Linked DNA regions of Homo sapiens: region 2 is linked to region 1. Evidence: promoter capture Hi-C in human tissues and cell types (Jung and others, 2019). All regions are on one chromosome and are shown on one strand. The core of a region is centred on a gene start or on the middle of the fragment in contact, and the rest is flanking DNA. Distances in the headings are between cores, read along the strand shown. Region 1 holds the start of SLC35A3 (solute carrier family 35 member A3). Region 2 overlaps SASS6 (SAS-6 centriolar assembly protein).

Region 1 (6,728 bases), core at 3,127-5,626:
CTGTCCCTCCTTTCCCTTATCTATAAAATGGTGATAAGTAATAGTATGTATTTTGTAGGGTGGTTATGATTAAGGAATATAAATCAAATAAAGTGATTATTATACTACAATGCCTTATTCATTGAATACCTTTATAAAACCTACTCATGATAGAAAATACTATTAGAAATGCTGTTTGAAATTGGTTTTATAGCATATATGAATTTAGAAAAAAAACTTACATAACTTTTACAGAAAAAACTCAGCTCTAGGTAGATATAAAGTCCTATGTAGATACTTTGTGGAATGAGCTTGTTTCTTAGCATTTTATCTGACATGACTTCAAAGTTTCAGCTTCATTTTTTTTTTTTTTTTTTTGAGATGGAGTCTCACTCTGTCGCCCAGGCTGGAGTGCAATGGAGCGATTTTGGCTCACTGCAACCTCCGCCTCCCGCGTTCAAGCAATTCTCCTGCTTCAGCCTCCCGAGTAGCTGGGACTACAGGTGTCCACCACCACGCCAGGATAATTTTTGTATTTTTAGTAGAGACAGGGTTTCACCATGCTGGTCAGGCTGGTCTTAAACTCCTGACCTCGTGATCCGCCTGCCTGGGCCTCCCAAAATGCTGGGATTACAGGCATGAGCCACCACACCCGGCCCAGTTTCAGCTTCATCGTAATTCTAATTTCCACTATGCTTCCTGACCTAGCATACCTTTTCAATCAAACTTCTTATCTCTAAGTACAGCAACTTATTTTAAACTGGCTCTTTGGTTTCATTTTAGATGGTGTCTCCAATATGGATGATAAACTAGAAAGAGTTCTGGTCAGGCAATCTGGATAGAGAAGCCAAGCAACATTGTAGCTTCTAAAGTCATTTTCACACTTATATATAAAACACTCGAATTTATATAAAAGATACATTAAAGAAACAATGATTAAAAATATATAACCACTACACTCCTTCATTAATAGAGATAATTAAGTTGAACATACTTAAGAATACATTGCTTTTGTGAGGATTAAAATCTAATGTTAAGCTACCAATTCATATTCACCTGAATCTTATTTAATAATAAATTAATACTCATGAATGACATTATTAACTGTCAGTGTGATGATGTTCAAGCTATTTCAGTTACCCAGACAGGTCTATAACTTACTCTAAATTTCTGGCACTTACATGCACACACACAGACAAATCCACAGTTGATTAACATTAAACAGAAACTTCACTCTCTATACTTCTCAGGAAAGGAAAAGCTCAAAAGTTATATTTCATGGCTACTGAACAAGTTTAGGCTTTCAAACGAGATTCTTTCCATTGATTCTGTAACTTATCCAATCACTCGAGCAAAATGTTGAATTTCTACTAAGTAAAAGGCACATGTTTCAGGACACAAATTATATCAATTTCAAATATAATTGAGGCAGCCTAAGGCGTATATGTAGGTCCCAGGGCAAATTATTTGGACTGTCTGAACTTTAATATTCTTATCTATAAAATAGCGGTGATAATAACTATCCTACACCAACGATTTATTACTAGGATCAAATGAGGTACTAAAACATGGAACAGAAAAGCATTTTCAAATATTAAATCCACAGTAAGTTTCTATAACAACTCAAGAGCTCATCTTGTCTCCAGAAGCACAATAACAGTCTGTTTCATTACATGATTAATGTAACAAATATTTAAGAGTCTAATACATCATGATGTGTTCAAGTACTAAAGTGCTTTAAAAATGTAGTAAGTACAGGCTGGGCGCGGTGGCTCATGCCTGTAATTCCAGCACTTTAGGAGGTGAGGTGGGTGGATCACTTGAGGCCAGGAGTTCAAAACCAGCCTGGCCAACATGGTGAAACCCCCGTCTCTACTAAAAATACAAAAATTAGCTAGGTGTGGTGATGCACGCCTGTAGTCCCAGCTACTCGAGAGGCTGAGGCAGAAGAATCTCTTGAACCTGGAAGGCAGAGGTGGCAGTGAGGCGAGAGGGTCACGCCACTGCACTCCAGCCTGCGTGACAGAGCAAGACTCCATCTCAAAAAAAAAAAAAAAAAAAGTAGTAAGTACAAATGCTTTCCTTAGGAAGCTTACATTACAGTAGGGATAATAGAACTCTCAAATTACAATGCAAATTTAACAAGTGTTGTAAGATTTATAAAGCCCAGCACACATGAAGAAAAAAAAATGGGCTGGGCGTAGTGGCTCATGCCTGTAATCCCAACACTTTGGGATGTCGAGGCAGGTGGATCACCTGAGGTCAGGAGTTCAAGACCAGCCTGGCCAACATGGTGAAACCCCGTCTCAACTAAAACTACAAAAAAATTGGCTGGGTGTGGTGGCGGGCACCTGTAATCCCAGCTACTTCAGGAGGCTGAGGCAGGAGAATCGCTTGAACCCGGGAGACGGAGGTTGCAGTGAGCCGAGATCGCAACATTGAACTCCAGCCTGGGCAACAAGAGCAAAACTCTCTCAAAAAAAGAGAAAAAGAAAAAGAAAAAAAGAATGAACTGGATTTATGGCAGATTTCAGAAAGCTGCATAAGAAAGAGATGGCATTTAAGGAATTGAAGAATAAGTAGAATTTCTACAAAGACAGCAAGGAAGGCCTTCCTTGTTTCTTCTTTGTAGGAAGAAATGATAAAAGCAAACACCAAGGCTGACAGGCATATAGCATGTTCAGAAACTGGACGTCTAATTAACGACTAGTTTGGCTAAAAAATAGGATATGTGGAAAAAAGTAATACTTGTTTAATAAAAGGAAAAAAGAAAGAATCATATTGGGGGCCGGGTGCGGTGGCTCACGCCTGTAATCCCAGCACTTTGAGAGGCCGAGGTGGGTGGATCACGAGGTCAGGAGATCGAGACCATCCTGGCTAACATGGTGAAACCCCGTCTCTATTAAAAATACAAAAAAATTAGCCGGGCGTGGCGGCGGGCGCCTGTAGTCCCAGCTACTCAGGAGGCTGAGGCAGGAGAACGGCATGAACCCGGGAGGCGGAGCTTGCAGTGAGCTGAGATTGCGCCACTGCACTCCAGCCTGGGCGACAGAGCGAGACTCCGTCTAAAAAAAAAAAAAAAGAATCATATTGATTTTACTGGAGCCACCGTCAGACTCAAATTCTGAAGGAAAAATCTGAAGCCTCCCTAAATAATATAAAATTTATTAAATGCCTCCCTAAATAATTTACATTTTATTCTGAAGCCGATCGAGAGTCACTGCGTATTTCTGAGGAAGGAATAACCAAAAAAAGAAAGTCATAAGATCTTTGGCTTTAAAAGTAATATGGAGGCAAGTGACTGGAAGGGTGCCAGGCTGAGGACAAGTCCAGTTTGGAAGTTATTGCTATAGTGCAAGTAAGAAGAGGAAAGACGAGCATATTTAGCAGACAGGTAGTGGGAATGAAAAAGGGGAGAACTAAATTTGAGATGCTGAAGAGATAGAATCAACAGTTGGGAGGAAAGTTAGCCTCAGAAATATAAGTTTACAAGTCATTCCCTTGAAACACCCTGAGTTTACCAGTGAAAGTGAATAAGAACACCAAGTAAGAAACTGCACCAAATTTCATCTTTAACTACTAAAGTCGAATGTTGATTTCAAAAACGAAAAGACTTAATTTTCAAATACTGCATTTAAGAGAACATAATAAAAGATCGTCTTTTACTATAAAGCAATGCACCCACACACCTGTTCTGATGAGAATCTCACCCCACTTCAAACAGTCCTTGTGTTCTTACTAGCCTTACCAAGGGCAGCCTTTCCATTTCTTTAAGTTCCTGCGGCTTCTTGAGCTCCAGGTGCTGGTCGGGTGCATCTGTGCCTACCACAGGGCTCAACACCGAGCGAGAGCTCATGGGATGTTCACTGAAGGAATGACGGGCCCCAGCCGGGCCCACCCGTCACTAGCTCCGCACGCACCAGGCGCTGAGGCACACACTGCCGTCTTCATTCGCTTGACACACCCCTCTCCTCGGGCCTTTTTTCCTCCTCCACCCAGTACATTCCGCACGTCGTCCGTCGGAGTTACAACGTGTCACCTCATCTGCTCCCACCCCTACTTAGCTAGCACTGTATTTCAGGTCTTCGATACCGTCCCCTTCACCCCTACAGACTTCACATCAGCCCCCTCGCATGCCTCCTCTTCCTCCTCCTCCAGGAGCTTCCCGGGCCGCCCCGCAGCCGCTAGCCTCCTGGTTCCCGCCCCTCCCCAGGTGCGCTGAGGACTCACCTCCCGCGCAGCTCGACCGGCTGAGCCCACCACCGGGGGCCGCGGTTCAGCTCCGCCGGGCGCCCCAGGCTGCCGAGTCCGCTGGGTCCTACGCGACCGCTGACCCGCAGCGCCGCCGGCTCCCGTCGCCGTAGCCACCGCCAGCTCGGTGCAGCCCAGGCGTTTCCGGGTTCCCGCGGTCCCGTCCCCCAAATGCTCCGGCTTCCGCCTCGGCTCTGGCAAATGCCGTTCCCGGCTCGGCTCTGGCAGCCCCAGCTCGGCACTTGGCAGCTCTGTCCCTAAGGCGACGCACCTGGGCTGCTCTGCTGGCAGCCCCTGGTTCCTGCTTCACCGTCGCGTGGAGGCCTGGGGCACTGCTTTCTGCTACACCTCTCCTAGGAGCGCGAAACAGATGGAGTGACACTCGTCGAGGGCCTCTGCGGGACTGTCTGTTTGCAGAGGGTGCCAAGGTGTCCACTGCGTAAGGAAGGGCAAAGTCCTTTGGGGCAAAGAACCCTGAGAGGAACGGGGAGATGGATTTTGAAAGCAAACGAACCCTCTCCTAAAAGTGACTGTCACTGACCTGAAAACAACCAGATTAGCTATGGCAAAGGCTGCCAACCAACCAGTGGTCTGCAAGAAGGCTTGTTCTTCCACTTCACCCACCCTGACTGAGATCTTGAGACTGAAGGAAACCCAAAGCCGTACCACCAATGGGCCTAGTGTCATCAACCGGGAGAGGAAAAAGAAAACTGGGCCCAGAGGATTGCAGAGTTATGAGGGACCAACCCCTTCCTGGCTGCATGGATCACAGCATTACCTTTTAAAAGTGTTCCAGTAGCTGTGTTGGAAACCCTCTAACCACGGCAGCCCATTCAGGTGATGAACAGGCTGAAATCAGTACTTCAGGTTCAGCTGGATTATCAAATAAGCGAATAGGATTATCTCTTTTTGTTAACTCAGGGCTGCTATAAATTAAGCCTATGTCTCTTTATATTGCAAATGATTAAAACCATGTCCAAGAGAGACATACTTAGAAAAAAAGTGATATTGAAGAAAAATAAGTAACTGTATTAGAGTAGAATAACTGGTTTTAAAATTTTCTGCAATACAGTCTTGAGAAAATTCCTGGATGGTAAAATACATATTAGATCTTAATACATGCCCAGTTTTTTTTGAAACCAAAATGTGCCTGTTAGATGATGATAACAGCATGCCTCGTTTTATTGTGATTTGCTTTATTGCTCTTCACAGACATTGCTTTTGTTTTTTTGTTTTTTTTTTTTACAAATTGAAGGTTTGTGGCAACCTTGCCTCAAGCACATCTATTGGTGCCATTTTTCCAACAGCATGTGCTCACTTTGTGTCTCTGTGTCACATAATATTCAATAATTTTTGCAATATTTAAATTTGTTCATCATTATTATATCTGGTATAGTGCTTTGTGATCAATGATCTTTGATGTTACTATGGTAATTGTTTTGGGGTGCTGATATGGTTTGGCTGTGTCCCCACCCAAATCTCAACTTGAACTGTATCTCCCAGAATTCCCACGTGTTGAGGGAGAGACCTAGGGGGAGATAATTGAATCATGGGGGCCAGTCTTTCCTGTGCTATTCTCATGATAGTGAATAAGTCTCATGAAATCCGATGGGTTTATCTGGGGTTTCTGATTTTGCTTCTTCCTCATTTTTCTCTTGCTGCAGCCATGTAAGCAAGTACCTTTCACCTCCCGCCATGATTCTGAGGCCTCCCCCGCCATGTGGAACTGTAGGTCCAATTAAACTTCTTTTTCTTCCCAGTCTCGGGTATGTCTTTATCAGCACCATGAAAATGGACTAATACAGGTGCCATGTACTGCACTCATATAGAAAGGCAAACTTAATTAATAAATGTTATGTGTGTTCTGACTACTCCACCAACTGCCCATTTCCCCACACTTCTCCCCCTTGGGCCTCCCTATTTCCCAATAAACAGCAATATTGAAATTAGGCCAATTATTAACCCTACAATGGCTTTGAAGGAAATCAAAATATTTTACCCCAAAATATACTACTTTGACATATTTTGAGATGACTGTTTAGAGGGCCTGCAATCAGAAGTAGCCTTTGCAGGCCAGATGTGGTGGCTCACGCTTGTAATCCCAAGACTTTGGGAGGCTGAGGCCAGCGGATTGCTTGAGCCCAGGAGATCGCGACCAGCCTGAGCAACATATTGAGATCCCATCACTACAAAAAATAAAAATTTAAACATGTACCAGTCATAATGGTACATGCCTTTAGTCCTAGCTACTCATGAGGGAGGCTGAGGTGGGACGATCACTTGATCCCAGGAGTTCAAGGCCACATTAAGCCATGATCATGCTACTGTACTCCAGCCTGGCTGATAGAGCAAGACCCTGTCTCAAAAAAAAAAAAAAAAAAAAAGTAGCCCAGTAGCCCTGCAAAACTGTCTCTTGTAGGGCAGATTTGCATCTGTGGAGAATCTGCATTAATGTAGCCAGGCTTTCTCTGAGGCCCTTCCTTGTCCAGATCTAGGAA
Region 2 (6,352 bases), core at 1,388-3,887, 160 kb before region 1:
ACAGATTAGGAGTTCAGGCTCTGGAGCCAGATTGCCTGGGTTTAAGTCCCAGTTCTTCCACTTACTGACAGATCTTGTACAATTTCCTTCTCTGTGTCTCATCTTTAAGTTGATGGTAATAACAGTACCTACTTCATGGTATTATGAGAATGGAATGAATTATACATATGAACTGCTTACAACAGTGACTAGAGCATAATAAATGTTCACTAAATTTTAGGTATTAATGTGTGACAAATGCATAAAGTAATATAAGTACACTAAAGTCAGAGAAGAAGGAAATTCAGTTGAGGACAGTGGTAATGATCAGGGAACTTCATCTGGTGGAAAATTATGCAAAATTTTGGAACCCATGATTTGACACTAATCTGCCTTTTCAGTTTTGTTTCCTAAGCTTATCTCTCCAATATGAAAGTCATACAAGCATTCTTGTTACCTTCTGAATATACCTGATACTCATTCTATACTATTACCCCTGCTGTTCCTTGTGCCTCAAATGCTTTTTTCTTTCATAACTTTCAGGTATGTCTTAAATCCTTTCACTATAAGGACCCTTCAAAGTTGCCTAAGTTGAAATGAATTGCCATTATTCAGTTATTAGATAGTGTGGTGTAGGTGAAAGATCTGAGTTTTCATTTGGGCTCTGTAATGTGACCTTAAACCATTATTTGGGCCTTAAGTTCTTCTTTTGTAAAATAAATAATATTTACTTATCAAGATTATTGTTAAATAAGATGATATATGTAGAATACCTGGCAGGTACTCAGTAGTGTTGGTAACCCTTCCCTCCCCTCTCATGGAGCCCTAAAATGCAATCAGAAGCAAATCTAGCAAAAAGTCATTAATCTCATCTCAATTTGAGGACAGAGACCATGGTTTTTTTTGTTTTGTTTTGTTTGTGTCATCCTATGTTCAAAAATTATTATTTTTTTTTTTTTAGAGAGAGGCTGTCACTCTGTTGCCCAGGCTAGAGTGTTGTGTCATAATCATGGCTTACTGTAATCTCAAACTCTTGGTCTTAAGCTCTCCTGCTTCAGCTTCCAGAGTACATGAAACTACAGGCATGCACCACCATGCCTGGCTCATTTTATAAATTTTTTGTAGAGATAGGATTTTGCTATGTTGCCCATGCTGGTCTTGAACTCTTGGCCTCAGGTGATCCACCCACCTCAGCCTCCCAAAGTGCTGGGATTACAGATGTGAGCCACTGTGCCAAGCCCCTGGACCATGTTTATTTCTGTTTGTATCCCTAGCACCTGGCACAATACCTGGCTTAAAGTACCTTTTATTTGTTTGATTGATAGTTTAAGAGCACAGCTACTGGGTGTCAGAGATGGCCTAGAATCCAGTTGTGCTAAAGCAAGCCTGATGTTTAGAATACTTTTTATTTAGAAGAACTCATAACTAAATCTAATGTCATTAGTATTAGACATCTATTGAGTACGACATCTATTGAGATGAGAAATAACATTTTATTGAGTTTTTATTGTTTTATATTGCTCTTATGACATTAACCATTATAAGGGAAAAAATAAGATTTGTGATTTTAGTTAGCGTATCCTCTGAAAGCTTGTATTTTTCTACAGCATATTTCTAGGGATGTTTTTTAACTAAGCATGGGGAATTCGTTTAACTTACAGGCCTTCCGTTTTTTCTTTCAACATCTAATGTATATAGGCATTTGGAATATATGCAACAATATCATTAATATGATTGGTAAATTGTCATAGTAATATAACTCTTCCAGGATTATGTAAAGAACACTTTGATAAGTGAATTCTTCTTGTACTTTTTGCAAATATATGAAGTATGACAGGACTTTTAAAACCGTAAAACACCGTCTAGGTGCAGTGGCCCACGCCTGTACTGCTATCACTTTGGGAGGCTGAGGTGGGCAGATCACTTGAGGTCAGGAGTTTGAGACCAGTCTGGCCAACATGGTGAAACCCCATCTCTACTAAAAATACGAAAATTAGCCAGGTGTGGTGTTGTGCCCCTGTAAACTCAGCTACTCAGGAGACTGAGGCAGGAGAATCGTTTGAACCTGGGAGGCGGAGGTTGCAGTGAGCCAAGATCGCACCATTGCACTCCAGACTGGGTGACAGAGCGAAACTCTGTCTCAAAAATAAATAAATAAATAAATAATTAAAATAAAAATAAACTGTAAAGCACCATAAAAAGTTAAATACCAACTGCAGTATCATACCACTATGGCATTTATACTAGAGAAAACTTCAGAAGATGAAAACCAAACATAATGATGTAGAGCTAAAAAGGTTTTCACAAACCTTCTAGTTGAATCCACTTATCTTACAAGTTCGGAAACTGAGTCCCCCCCTCCCCCACCCCACCACGAAAGCTTAATCTTGCTGTGTTGCCCAGACTGGACTTGAACCCCTGGGCTCAAGCTATCCTCCTGCCTCAGCCTCTGAAGTAGCCAGCACTACAGGTGGGAGGCACTGTGCCCAGCTCAGGAAAGCTTAAATGGAATTGGAGTAACACTCTAATCTGTTTCACATATGTTGCTTTAGATACTAGAAAAATAGCAACAGTGTATTCTCTTGTTTTGAAAATAATTCTTCCTCTCTCTGGTGTAAACCAGTGCTTCTTGTTCCTTTTCAGAAAACAGATACAAGTTATGAGGTAACATTTAACCTTATTGTACAAACGGAGATTTAGCATCCAATCATATGTTCAACAAGAAACTTAACTAAAATGACACATTTTAAACCCATATAAAATTACAAGTCAGCATTAAAAAATCTAAACAATTGAATCTAGCCTTGATCAACTGTTTCCAAGTTTTCCTATCAGTACTCAATTGCTGTTTATACTTTTTACTTGTGTAGTAGATAAGCAATAGTGTGGAAAAGGTTTAAAAGAAGTCCTTAGAAGAAAAACTTAAAATTGAACAAATTCTATTTGTTAGTTTACTTTTTTCTACCTGCACATCAAAGAAAGGCCATTGTTATTTAATTCTGGCAGAATAGTTTGAGAAGTACTTGTGCATAGGTATTTTTTACTAATTTCTCCCTTTATTTTCTGAATTATATAAGCATTTGTGCTCTATTTGATTAATGTTTATGAGCACTTTCACCTATATACCTCTGTCCAATTCTGGATTCTCTAAGATACAGCATAGGATGTGGAACACTGTGGTCTCTCCCTCTCAGGGCTTAAAGTTACTTTACTCAAGGATAAAATAGGTGTAATAAACTTGTTGATAATACTTCTGTGGTTTTATTACATAAAGAATATATTAAGCAGATTTAATTCGTGGATGTGAAAATACGTTTTTGTATGAATAAATGTAGGGAATATGTTATTTCCTTGATTTTAAACATTCAAAGCATTCTAATATCGCTTCACATATTAAGTTTTTATTTTATTTTATTTTATTTTTTGAGACAGGGTCTCTGTTGCCCAGGCTGGTGTGCAGTGGTGCAGTATTGGCTCACTGCAGCCTCTGCCTACCAGGTTCCGCATTTCTCCAACCTCAGCCTCCCAAATAGCTGGGACTACAGGTGGGTGCCACCACGCCTGGCTTGTTTTTGTATTTTTTGTAGAGATGAGGTTTTGCCGTGTTAACAGGCTGGTCTCCAACTCTTGACCTCAAGTGATCTGCCTGCTTCAGCCACCCAAAGTGCCAGGATTACAGGTGTGAGCCACTGCGACGGGCCACATACTAAGTTTTTAAAATGCAATCAGTCTCTCATTAATCAGTTTGATTACATGACATGGTAATTTTTTAATGTGAAAAGTTGTTACTAAATTGGTGGTTTGTCTTTCTAGATGTTATTTTAGAATCAGGGCAGTAAGGGTATATGAGGTTCTTACCTCATTTAATCCTCAAAACATCCCCATTTTACAGTTGAAAAGTTACTAAATTGATGGTTTGTCTTTCAATAGATGTTACTTTACAATCAGGGCCGCAAAGTCATATATCAGGCTAGTGCTAGGCACTCCACAGTGTTTATTTCATTTAATCCTCACGATATCCCCATTTTACAGGTGAGAAAAATTTAGTTTTAGGTTAAACACTGCTAGATTACTCACTAGTGGAACAAGAAGAAATTAAGCTTCAAATCCGGTGTGCTTTTCAAACTTCTGTTCATAAGTTAGAGAACACCTGTGGAAAGTCTTGTCACTTAAGACTGAAAACTTAATACAAATGATAGTGATAACTCATTTCGTGTGAATGTTTCTGATGGTTGGGTATGTCTTTTCCTACAGGAGAGTAAGTATAAGAATGAGCATTGAACTACAATCAGTTTCTAATCCAGTTCACAGAAAGGTTGGTATTTAGTCCTTTTTTGAAATATCATTTCGGTACATTGTAGACAATTAGTTTTGTTCTTTAAGAATGTGACATCTTTTATTGCATTTATTTTGCTTTTACATTTTAGGCTATTTTGCAACTGTTGGAAATCAAGGGTGGTGGAATCTACTGAGACAACAACTGAAGGATAATTATACTATATATTTCTTTTTTTTTTTTTTTTTTTTGAGATGGAGTCTTGCTCTGTCACCAGGCTGGAGTGCAGTGGCACGATCTCGGCTCACTCACCTCCCGGGTTCAAACAATTCTCCTGCCTCAGCCTCCCAAGTAGCTGGGACTACAGGCATGCACCACCACGCCCAGCTAATTTTTGTATTTTTAGTAGAGACGGGGTTTCACCATGTTGGCCAGGATGGTCTCGATCTCTTGACCTTGTGATCTGCCCACCTCGGCCTCCCAAAGTGCTGAGATTACAGGCTTGAACCACTGTGCCCGGCCTATACCATATATTTCTAAAACATACGTGAAAAATTGTGGGGTGGGGTGACATTCTCCTTAGATTTGCCCAGTGCACTTAGAAGTTGCATATTATATATATATAATAACATATATATAAAAATATATTTTATTGCTGTTGGTCATACACACACACACACACACACACACACACACACTGCTGCCTTGTAGAATTGGCATTTCATGGTATAAATGTAAAAACAATAAACCGAAGTACTGCAGGGAGATATTTGTGAATCTTTTACTTTACGTTTTGAAGAGAGGCATTTAGAGTATCAGTCTCATATAACCTTCAAAAGTGTGAGTCATTAACAGAACTAAGGATATAGAATAGAGGAGGGGTCCCCAACCCCCTGGCCACTTACTGGTACGGTCTGTGGCCTGTTAGGAGCCAGGCTGCACAGCAGGAGGTGAGTGGCAGGCAGGGAAGCGAGTGTAACCTCCTACGATCCACCTCCTGTCAGATCAGTGGTGGCATTAGAGTCTCATAGGAGTGCAAACCCTATTGTGAACTGTACATGCAAGGGATCTCAGCTGTATGCTCCTTATGAGAATCTAATGGCTGATCTGAGGTGGAAGTTTCATCCTGAAACCATCCTTCACTCCCTAATTCTTGGAAAAATGTCTTCTACAAAACTGGTTTCTAGTGCCAAAAAGGTTGGGGGCCACTGGAACAGAGAACTAAGAAATACGGCATCTGTGCCAAGGGCAGTGCCTCACACCTGTAATCCCAGCACTTTGGGAGGCTGAAGTAGGCAGATTGCTTGAGCCAGGAGTTTGAAACCAGTGTAGGCAACATGGTGAAATCCCATCTCTACAAAAAAATACACAAATTAGCTGAATGTGGTGGCACACTCCTGTAGTTCCATCTACTTGAGAGGCTGAGGTGGAAGGATCACTTGAGACTGGGAGGTTGAGGCTGCAGTGAGCTGTGAGGGTGCCACTGCAACCTAGACTGGGCGACAGAGCGAGACCCCATGTCAAAAAACACTGAAATATAGCATCTGTTTTCTGTGTGCCATAGCTTTCCCTGAACACATTCAAGGACCTAGTAGTATTAATAGTACCTTTGGTTTTTTAAGTAGCATCCTGGGTGAATTTCAGGAAGTACTTAAATAGAAGCTGCTTAAGAACAAGGCATTCTGAGGCAGAGCAGGTGCCTAAATTACTAATTTTCCAGAGTAGAGATGATATATTATACTTCTTACATGTTATTCCTTATGCCTGCTGTACCTCTTCATTTTCTAGCTTGGTGCATAAGTGGTTTAGATTTTTCTAGGATCTTAGCATTTCCTCAGTAGACATGAGTAGAGATTTTATTTCAAATGAATTCTTAACCTTAATGCCCAGTTCTTTATTAGTTTTACATCATCTTGTAACTAATGCTGTTTTTCTTTCACCAGTGTTCTCTGGTACATAATTTTGGTGTACTTTTTGTGAGCTCTAGCTGTTATGATGGTCTCCCACACTATGTACACGTAGCTACCTGGAAAGTGATCTTTATGAAAGGTACTTACTTCATTTGAGACTGAAAACAGTTGGGCTTCCATATCAGTG

Evidence for each region. The method cuts DNA at HindIII sites, captures the fragments that hold promoters and counts their contacts. A contact is called where the count stands out against the background at its distance.
Region 2: a contact is called between a fragment that was not itself captured here and the fragment with the promoter of SLC35A3 in region 1, in 1 of the 25 tissues and cell types used here (hippocampus).

Annotation. Positions count from the first base shown.
Region 1 is chr1:99,967,644-99,974,371 of GRCh38, reverse strand. It overlaps SLC35A3 (solute carrier family 35 member A3), which reads right to left and starts at 4,376. Exons shown (of 8, transcript NM_012243.3): 1 at 4,210-4,376. All of the region lies in intron 1 of LOC124904230 (a long non-coding RNA gene), which reads left to right. RefSeq lists enhancers at 3,927-4,016, 4,737-4,786, 4,847-4,896 and a silencer at 4,137-4,336. The HindIII fragment of the contact is 9,355 bases long and covers 139-6,728 here.
Region 2 is chr1:100,123,824-100,130,175 of GRCh38, reverse strand. It overlaps SASS6 (SAS-6 centriolar assembly protein), which reads left to right. Exons shown (of 17, transcript NM_194292.3): 2 at 4,234-4,294. Among named protein-coding and RNA genes, the nearest start is that of SASS6, 5.9 kb to the left of the region's middle. The HindIII fragment of the contact is 5,984 bases long and covers 1-5,629 here.